2 separate regions of the Homo sapiens genome follow, and region 1 is linked to region 2. The links are contacts of gene promoters, found by promoter capture Hi-C in blood cells and fetal thymus (Javierre and others, 2016). All regions are on one chromosome and are shown on one strand. The core of a region is centred on a gene start or on the middle of the fragment in contact, and the rest is flanking DNA. Distances in the headings are between cores, read along the strand shown.

What was found. The method cuts DNA at HindIII sites, captures the fragments that hold promoters and counts their contacts. A CHiCAGO score of 5 or more calls a contact.
Region 1: a fragment that was not itself captured here is called in contact with the fragment with the promoter of HPCAL4 in region 2 in 1 of 17 cell types (megakaryocytes); the score reaches 5.1 in megakaryocytes.

The regions. Positions count from the first base shown.
Region 1 is chr1:39,970,021-39,975,438 of GRCh38, forward strand. No RefSeq gene overlaps it. Among named protein-coding and RNA genes, the nearest start is that of MFSD2A, 18 kb to the left of the region's middle. The HindIII fragment of the contact is 3,388 bases long and covers 2,120-5,418 here.
Region 2 is chr1:39,689,872-39,694,740 of GRCh38, forward strand. It overlaps HPCAL4 (hippocalcin like 4), which reads right to left and starts at 1,562. Exons shown (of 4, transcript NM_016257.4): 1 at 1,435-1,562. RefSeq lists silencers at 1-64, 1,339-1,418, 1,639-1,868 and an enhancer at 1,941-2,531. The HindIII fragment of the contact is 11,293 bases long and covers 1-1,902 here.

The sequences.
Region 1 (5,418 bases), core at 2,564-5,063, 280 kb after region 2:
AGAACACACTGAGCCCCAGGTGCTACTGGGTGGGGGCGAACATGTCTGGAGTTGTGGCTGGAGTGCAGTGGCGCAATCTCGGCTCAGGCAATCCTTCCTTCTGCTTCACCCTCTCGAGTAGCTGGGACTACAGGCATGCACCACCACGCCTGGCTGATTTTTAAATTTTTTTGTAGAGATGGAGGTTTCACTATGTTGCCCAGGCCAATCCTTCTCACTGGACTCAAGCAATCCTCCTGCATTAGCCTCCCAAAGTAGTGGGATTACAGGTGTGAACCACTACACCTGGCCTCTTGCTAAGTCAAGACTGTTCTTATTTGAAAGATAAGAACACCCTAGTGTAGAGAGGGATTTAGCTAAAGTCACGCAGCCTTTAGTGACCTAACTGGAATTTTATCCCAACTCTGTAAGACTCCAATACCGTAATCGCCACTGTCTACTTCCTTGTGTCTGAGAATGACCAGGGGACCGGCAGACAGATGCTTGCTCTGGGTGTGCCTGTACACTGTGCTTCCTGCCTGGTGCATGCCTGAGCCTGCAGGGCTGGTGGGGCTGGAGGCCTGTGGGGTCCCTGGAGACTGGTGGTTCTTTCTCCACAACTGTTACTGATGGTATTGAAAGGTGAGAATGTACCTGCTGGATGTGTGTATCAGATGAGGGAGGATTTTACCACAGACGCACTGGTGACAAAAAAAAACCAAACACCTCCGGTAGGGAACAGGGTGGTGGGGAAGGCCTAGTTGGGAGCACTTGGCTAACTTCCATGGTATGAATAACTCCCACCATAGCCAATTTCAAGTTATCCATGGTTGTTCATTTGAACATTTCCTAAACATTTAGTAGTTGGCTTTTACAAGCTGGTAGGAGCTTGCCTAACACACCACTGGGTCTCACACTTAGGCCAAGCCCCCAAAATCACAAGAAGGCAAAGCTGGCAGGATCAGGAGCTACTAGTCAAATCTCCTGATTTTATAAATAGATAAATGAGGCCCAGACAAGAGAGGCTCTTAGGCTATTCTGGCTTGGTTCTTACCTTGAGTGTGGGGCTCCGTTTTGGGTGGGAGGGAGGTCCACCATTTTTACTGATGAAGTTCTGCCAGGTTACTTTGATAAATTACATTAAGCGTTACTAACAGGCATGGTTACATGTGTGTAATAAGTATGAATTCAGTTAGTCTTCAGATAGTTGTCAGAACTTCCCTATGAGGAAGGTATTATTGTCATCCTCACGTTAAGAGATAAGGAAACTGACGCAGGGAAAAGTTAAGTAACCTGCTCAAGGTCATTGGACAGTCACTGGAAGAGCTGATACTTGAATCGAGGTTGGCTATAGTGCCTGGGCTCTTAACCACTACTTAAGGCTGTTAGGTGAACCAATGGTTTTGTCAACACCAAGGCAAGTCACACACTGTCTTTGTATCAGCCATCTCATGTCAGGCTGTCTGGGCAAGGCAGGAGCCTAGAGTCTGTTATGGCCTCTGGAGCTGGCCTGCTCAGAGACTCTGAGATAATGTTTATAGAAGCCCACTTATACCTCCTCTCTCCCTCCACTCTAACCAGTAACCACCAAGTCCTGTCTTTAAAAAAAAAAAAAAATTAAAGTTTTCAGCTGGGCGCAGTGGCTCACGCCTGTAATCCCAGCACTTTGGGAGGCCGAGGCGGGCAGATCACCTGAGGTCAGGAGTTCGAGACCAGCCTGGCCAACATGGTGAAACCCCGTCTCTACTAAAAATACAAAAATTAGCCAGGTGTGGTGGTGCATGCCTGTAATCTCAGCTACTCAGGAGGCGGAGGCAGGAGAATCGCTTGAACCCAGGAGGCAGCAGTTGCAGTGAGCTGAGATCGCGCCATTGCACTCCAGCCTGGGGGACAGAGAGAACCAGTCTCAAAACAGAAACAAACCAAAAACCAACAAACAAAAACAAAACTAGCCAGGCGTGGTAGCACATGCCTGTAATCCCAGCTACTTGGGAGGCTGAGGGCAGGAGAATGGCTTGAACCTGGGAGGCGGAGGTTGCAAAGAGCTGAGACCATGCCATTGCACTCCAGCCTGGGCAACAGAGCAAGACTCTGCCTGAAAAAAAAAAAAAAAAAAAATTAAAGTTTTCCAAACCACTCAAGCTTGTTTCTTTCTTAGCCCCACAATTACTTCTCAGGCATTATGCTCTCTTACCTGGGTGAATAGACAAGCATCCTGTCTTGTCTCCTTGACTTTAATTTGATCTCCTCACCTTCTTTCTGCAAACTATCCAAGATAACTCAGTAGCTCTCCTGTTTAGAAACATTTCTGTAAACTGGGTGTAGTGGCTCTGCCTGTAATCCCAGCTACTGGGGAGGCTGAGGTGTGAGGATTACGAGGCCAGGAGTTCAAGACCAGCCTGGGCAACATAATAAGACCCCGATTCTATAAAACAAAAAACAATTAGCCAGGTGTGGTGGCTTGCACCTTGTAGTTCCAGCTACCCAGGCAGCTGAAGCAGGAGGGTCTCTTGAGCCCAGGAATCTGAGGCTGCAGTGACCTATGATTGTGCCACTGCACTCCAGCCTGGGGAACAGAGGGACACCCTGTCTCAAACAAAACAAAAAGTTTCCTAGAAATCCTTCTGTGAGTTCCTGTCTGAGTACCCTACTGACCTCCCCAGGCCCAGATCTAGATGCAGCTCTTTTTGCAGGCCACCTGCGTGACCCTGGTCTTGCAGCTCCTGCTGCAGCTCTACCTGGCAGACACCCATCCAATGTGTCTTGACTCCAGCAAGCCCCTCTGAAGCAGTCCCTACCCCTCTGCCTTTGGGACATCTCAGAGGGATCGTCTCTTTCATCGTGGTCTCCCACACTGAGCCGAGGGCCAGGCATGGTGGGGTGCGGCAGGCACGTGGAGCTGAGTGAATGGGAGCTGTGACCAGAGCAGGCTTTGGCTGGGCATCAGACCCAACTCCCACTGACCCACTGTGACACCTCTCTCCAGGTCACAATTTCCCCAAACTTCCTATGGGGATTTAGACTTTTCATTTTTTCTTTCTTTTTCTTTTTTTTTTTTTTTTTGAGACGGAGTCTCGCTCTGTGGCCCAGGCTGGAGTGCAGTGGCGCCATCTCGGCTCACTGCAAGCTCCGCCTCCCGGGTTCACGCCATTCTCCTGCCTCCGCCTCCGGAGTAGCTGGGACTACAGGCGCCCGCCACGCGCCCGGCTAATTTATTGTATTTTTAGTAGAGACGGGGTTTCACCGTGTTAGCCAGGATGGTCTCGATCTCCTGACCTCGTGATCCGCCCGCCTCGGCCTCCCAAAGTGCTGGGATTACAGGCGTGAGCCACCGCGCCCGGCCAGGGGATTTACACTTGAACACCCTTGCTTCTCTCCAGTTTCACACTCACAGAAAATTGCTCTCCTCTTCCAAGATCCCCTGTTGAATTCTTGGGGACTTCTTTCGGGGTGGGACGGGTGAAGAGGGGAAGCAATGTCTGTTGGGTCATTGGCTACTCTAGGTCCCTTCTGGACAGATCATACCTACTTATTCTTGGGAGAAGAGCCATATTGACTTCCTCTATGCTTGGATCCAGCATTACTACAACAAACCCTGTCTCTCCCTCTTCACTCGGCCCTGCTGCCCTGTCTTGCCAACCTCACAGCCCATCCACACCTCTGGTAAGGACCAGGTGCAGCTTTGGCGCCACCTGCTGGAAGAAAGGAGCAGCACCTCCACGTTTCAAAGAGGAAATTCCAGATCTGACATTGTTTTGGAATATCGATTCCATTGATCCGAACAGATATTTACAATGAGTCTACTATATGCCACACACCAACTAGGCTCTGAGGACAAAGTGGTGAACAAAATAGAGCTTACATTCTCAGTGGAGATCAATGACAAATAAATAATTTCAGATCGTAATAAGCATCATGAAAGAAGCGAGGTGATGTGATGGAGGAAACTGGTACGGAACTACTTTAAGTCAAGTGCTCAGGAAAGAATGTCCTGAGAAAGTAACATTTGGCTGGACACAGTGGCTCATGCCTGTAATCCTAGCACTTTGGGAGGCTGAGGTGGAAGGATCACTTGAGCTCAGGAGTTCGAGACCAGCCTAGGCAATAGAGTGAGACCTCATCTCTACTAAAGATAAAAAATTAAAAAAATTTAAAAAAAGAAAGAAAAAGAAAGTGATCCTCATGAAGGATGAGAATTAGCTAAATGTGAAGAGAGCTTAGAGGGAAAGCATTGCAAGTAGAGGAGACAACGCAGACCCCAAGGCCCCAAAGAGCTTGGAATATCGGAAGGACAGAAAGGAGACCAGTGTGGCCAGAGTGTAGTGAATGAGGCCAGGCACAATTGCTCAAGCCTGTAATCCCAGCACTTTGGGAGGCCGAGGCAGGTGGATTACCTGAGGTCAGGAGTTCGAGACCAGCCTGACCAACATGGTGAAACTCCATCCTACAAAAAATACAAAATTAGCCAGGCGTGGTGGTGCATGCTTGTAATCCCAGCTACTTGGGCAGGAGAATTGCTTGAACCTGGGAGGCGGAGGTTGCGGCGAGCCGAGATCGTGCCATTGCACCCCAGCCTGGGCAACAAGAGTGAAATTCTGTTTCAAAGAAAAAAAGAGAGTATCTCAGGGAGAAGGAACAGCATGTGCTAAAGCCCAGAGGCCAGGGAGATCATGGTGGAGTCAAGGAACAGAAAGGCCAGTGTGCCTGGAGCACAAAGATTGAGGGAATGGGATGCAAGATGAGGCTGAGGATGAAGGCAGAGGCAGATGGTCCACAACATGGCTTCGTGGGTTGTGTTAAGCATTTTGGTCCTTATCCTAAGAGCAGAGGGAGGCCATTGAAGAATTTTAAGCAGGGAAGCCATATGATAGATGAAGAGTTTGGAAAGACCTATCAGCTGCTCTGAGGAGAAAGAATTGAAGAAGGTGAGAAGGGAAGCTGGAAGACGAATGAAGAGGCTTCTCATGTAATGTTCCAAGGATGAGTGGTATTGATGAGTACAAGACGAGTGGAGGCAGTGGAGATAGAAAAGGACTGATTTGGCAGCTGGTAGGACTGGATATAATTGAGATGGAGAGGGAGAGGGGGAGAGAGTATGAAAGTGATGTCTATATTTCTTTTTCTTTTCTTCTTTTCTTTTCTTTTCTGAGCTGGAGTCTCACTCTGTCGCCAGGCTGGAGTGCAGTGGCACAATCTTGGCCCACTGCAACCTCCGCCTCCTGGGTTCAAGTGATTCTCCTGCCTCAGCCTCCCAAGTAGCTGGGATTACAAGCGAGTGCCACTACGCTCAGCTAATTTTTGTATTTTTAGTAGAGACGAGGTTTCACCATCTTGGCCAAGATGGTCTTGATCTCTTGACCTTGTAATCCACCCGCCTTGGCCTCCCAAAGTGCTGGGATTACAGGCATGAACCACTGCACCTGGCCTATATTTCTTTTT
Region 2 (4,869 bases), core at 312-2,811:
CCTCTCCTCCCTTTGCTCTTCCCCAAGCAGCAGCAATAGCAGCAGCAACCAGGTCTTTTCCCTCTTCTTCTTAATGAGAGGCAGGGGATGACAAACAAAGAGTAATCCCAGCTGGCCACCTACAATTTGGAGCTGTCCATGTCAGGATGGGCTGGTGGTCTAGGAGGGACTCCTAATAGAAGGGGCCTGGAGAATGTGTGGGAGGAGGTAGCCTGTACCTAGGCTGGTTAAGAAGGAATGTGTCTTCAGTGAGTTCTAAACCAACCCCGCCCCCCTCAGGTCTCCTCTCTTTAATGTCCTCTTGGTTCAGGATCCTGTTTTTCCATAATCAGCCATAGAACCAGAGTGTCTCAGTGCCAGAAGGCTGTTCAAGTTCATCTCACCCAGTCTACCCTCTCTGTTATACCTCTCCCCATTTTCATGAAGGATCAGAGAGGGGAGTGACTTGGCCAAAGTCAAACTTTGGCTGTACAAGATTTGAACCCAGCTCATCTGCCCTCCAGGTATAGTTCACTTTAGGGCCAAGAGCAATACAGCCCACATGGCACCTTGGCAAGGTCCCCACGGAGCAGCAGGAAGGTGGGAGAGAGGGAGCAAATAGTCATACAAATTAGAAAGACATTTGACAGGCAGAATGAGAGGATTTGGTGCCTGGCTGTGAGGGGGGAGGGAGGAGGTATGGAGGTTGGGGCCTTGGCAGCAACTGGACTGACGGTATGGGTGGTCTGCTGGGGGTGGTGTCTTTGGTTCATCCTCCCGCCAGGATGAGAGATGCCAAATATGGGGCCTCTGCCTAGCACTGGGGGCCACTGGGGAGGGCTGTCGAGACTGTGAGGAGAAAAACTGGGGAAGGGGGATTGTCCCCCCCTCAGGTATGCTGTGGGCTCTGTCAGCTTGAGGGGTGGGATGTGGGGACAGTGTCTGGGGACAACAAGGAGGGAGCGCTCTGTGGAGGGGGAGGCTGTCTTTGGGGGCAGGGGCTCCCTGATGAGAAGTGGCTAGGGGCTATCCGTGGAGGTGGGAGTTTGCCATGGTGCTGGGCAGACAACCCATATCCAAACAGGAGGGAGGGTGACCAGCGCCTCCAGCTAGCACCAGCGCCACCACACCCCCAGATGTGTGTGTGTGCATCTGTGTGTGTATGTGTGTTTGCGCGCGTGTATGTTGGGGGCCATAGCAATGGTTGTTCTCACCTGAGCTGGGGATAAGTAGGCGGCTCTGCCTCCTTCTCTGCACCCATGGGCCTGGACTGAGGTGGGGGGTCTCCTGCCCAGGGGTGGGCTCTTCAGTTGCTGCCGCCTAAGGCGGAACCACGGGTCAGGGAGGTGAATCAGGGCAGGACATGAGGATGGGAAGGGAGAGTGGAGGGGGAGGGGGCCAGGGCCTCCGCCCGGTGGGTTTGTTGCCTTGAGGACCCGGTCCCACTCGCATTACCTGAGGCCGGTCGCCGGGTCGCTGGATGGCTCCGAGCCTCGGCGGGCCGCGGGAACCGAGGCTGGCTCGCGGGCCGGCAGCTGTGCTCTCCAAGGTCTGCGCCGGAGCCGCCTTCCAGCTCTTGTATCACTATGTGCCTCCCGAAGGCGACACTATTTGCATAAGCCCCGCCCCATCCCGGGCAGGTTGCACGGCTATTGGCTCCTCTGGAGCGGAGTGGCAGGCGGGGTTTCAGGTGGGGACCGGGTGGCCGGCGAGGCCCGGCCGCAGGAGCGCGCCCCGCCTGCCCGCGCTGACCTTCCCGGAGTCGCCGGGAAGCGGGAGGGCTGCACCCCCATCTGCACCCCTGCCCTGAGGCTCAGCCCCCGGCTTACAAGTCTGGGGTGGAAAGGGTCGACGATGAAAGTGGATTCTCAAAAACAACCTCACCGTTGCTATGGAAACGGGAGAACCACAGCCGAATCTCTAAGCTTCCTTTCCTGGGCCCCAGCATGGGTGGGGGCGGAAGAGGGGATGAGTCACAAGATGAGACCCCCCCCCACACCCATATCCCACCCGAAATTGGGAGGGGCCAAAGAGGAGCTGGGGAGGAGCTGGGTGGGAGAGGGAGGAGGTGGCTGGTCAGCAGTCCACATCTCTGCGTCCCCCCTCCCCACGCATCCACTCCCCTCACGCCGTGGGGCAGAGAGGAGGGTGCTGGTTGCGCGCGGAGAGCGCGGTATGGGTGGCGAAGTCCCAGCCTCTACCTAGCCCCGCGCTAGTCGTGGGTTCCCTCCAGCCACCCCTCTGGCCCTTCATTCCGGTCCCTCCCCAGACGGGCCCTCCTCCTTTCTCATGGACCCCCAAGAGGCCTCTCGCGTTCTCCCCCGAAGGACCCCTATGCCTAGCCATGGATCCTCCATTCCCCACCCTCCCGTTTTCCCGTCCCGCAGACGGAGCCGGTCCCCAGCCGCCGCCAGTCTCCGGCCTCGGATGTTGACACAAACCCGAGGCGGTTTACACTGAGCGGGTCTGGAAGCTTTCAGGGCCCCGGCAACACCTCCTCCCCGCACTTGGGGGTCTCCCCACAGCCCGGGCCGGCCGCCTGGGCTGCACTGGCGTCTGAGAGCTCCTGACACAAGGCTGTGGGAAGGAACCCTTTTAAGCCAAACTGGGGGCAAAAGGGGAGCCAGACATCCCCGGGCTGGGCCACGTGCGGGGCAGGGACTTCTAAGGATCTGTCGAAAGTCGGGGCGGACGGCTGGGGATTGGCCTAATCGGAGCGCGGACGCTGAAGAGCAGCGGTGAGAGGCGGGGCTTCTGTCCGCGCGGCGAAGGTAGAGGTGGGCTGGGCGGGGCGATGGAGGATGGGGTCAGACCTGCCGCGAGTGGGGGCGAGGCTTCTGGAGCTGGTCCCAGAAATGCCTGGGCCAGGCTCGCTGGGGGAGGAACCCGTGGACGTCCCTTTTCTTTAGGACCTGTCCCGTTGCCCCTTGAAACGGTTTTGCTCTACCATTTTCGAGGCTGCGGACTATGCCTTCTCTCTGCGGCCTTAGCGGGGGCTGAGGGCTCCAAGGAACCTGCAGCTGTAGGAGAAGGCGCGTCCTTGGCACTATGGGTTGGTGACTCATGAAAGACAGGTGTTTGAAGCTCTAACTCTTTCACTTCTCTGATACCTTCTCAGCTCTGGGTCTTGGGGACCCAGAGATGAGCGAGAACCCCCCTTGCTCACAGTTAACCATAATCCAAGGCGTGAAGAAGTGGGGAGAGGCAGCACAGGTTACTAGAAGTGGTATCTGAAACCCTAACATTGACTGACCCAAGTTCATATTGCTAACATTGAGTCTCATTTTTGCCAATGATTCCATTTACGACCGTGGGCAAAACCCTTCTCATTCTGGGCCTCCCAGTCTGTGAAATGTGGGAGCTGGCTCAAGAGGTCCAGAGGAGCAGGGGGAAATTTTCAACCAGGTGGGTGAAGAAAGACTGTCCCTTGGACAGAAGTATGTGGACATGAATCTGACTGCTCCACTTAAGAGTCCTGAGCCCCTTAACAATAGCTAATGTGTATCGAGAGCTTACTTTGTGTCAGGTGCTATTCTAGCATATTATATGTTACCATATAATATAAATTGGGAATAAGTTACTCAATTTATTCCCCATAAGAGCTCTGTGAGGCAGGTTCTATTATTACTCCTACTTAACAGATGAGGAAATCAAGGCACAGAGCGGTTAAGTGACTGACCCAAGTTCACATTGCTAGTAAAGAGAGCTCCAGTGCTGGGATTTGAACCCCAGCAGTCTAGCCTCAGAGCCCACACTCCTAATCAGTACACAATACTGCCTCTTCTTATGGTCCTTCAAGTCCTTAAGGGTAAGGACCTTAGATTGGAATATTTGTTTCTGATTCCCCAAGGTATTAGAAAGGCAAAATCCAGCCTCCTGGGCAGCCCTTCTGTCTCAGGTGAACAAGATATGGGATTCCAGCAGTACAGTAAACTAGAAGTAGTGAAAACAAGAAGCCCTCCTGGGCTCACACCCAGGATTTATGCCTGTAATCCTAGCACTTTGGGAGGCTGAGGCGGGTGGATCACTTGAGGTCAGGAGTTTGAGACCAGCCTGGCCAACATGGCAAAACCCTGCCTCCACTAAAAATACAAAATACAAAAATACAAAAATAAGGAGGCTGAGGCAGGAGAATCGCTTGAACCCAGGAAGCAGAGGTTGCGGTGAGCTGAGATCACGCCACTGCACTCCAGCCTGGGCAACAGAGTGATATACACACACACACACAAAAAAAAAAAAAAAAAAAAAAAAAAGCAGCAGCCCTCCTGAACTGCAAGGGGGCCAGAGTGTGGCTTCTCCTGGCCATCCTATCCTCCAGGCATGACTACCCATGCAGCCTCACCCATGAATCATCTTGGGGCCATGTGACTATTCCTGAACTGCCAGTCATAACCCAGCTTCACCTGTTCATCATACTCAACTTTGAGGCCCTGATATTGGACCCTGCCTCTGTTCCCTTCAGTTTGATGTTTAAAGCAATAACAGCTGACATTGACTGAATTGCCTCACTGTGTACCAGACTATCTGCCAAGTCCTTTATCTGCATCATCTTACTTAATCCAGAAGATGACCACTACTAGGGATGATATTAAAAATATCTAACACTCCATTCAGGCATGAGCGTTATCAATCAGAATGGATACTGGCCTTAGTGCTAGATCAAGGTCTTAGTAGCTCTCTGTTCTGCCAAGAGTTAACACTTAGGTTATTGGATCAGTCAGGCAGGCAGGGAGAAGCAAGCATAGTAAGGAGTCAAAGGCTATGGCTGTTTACCAATCAATTTGGAAGTACTTTTATGTTTTAATAACCAGTTTAGCTGTACAGTGCATAGGGACTGAATTTCAGCCCTTGTTTCATTACTTTATTTCATGGCACAGGATGGAGCCTCAG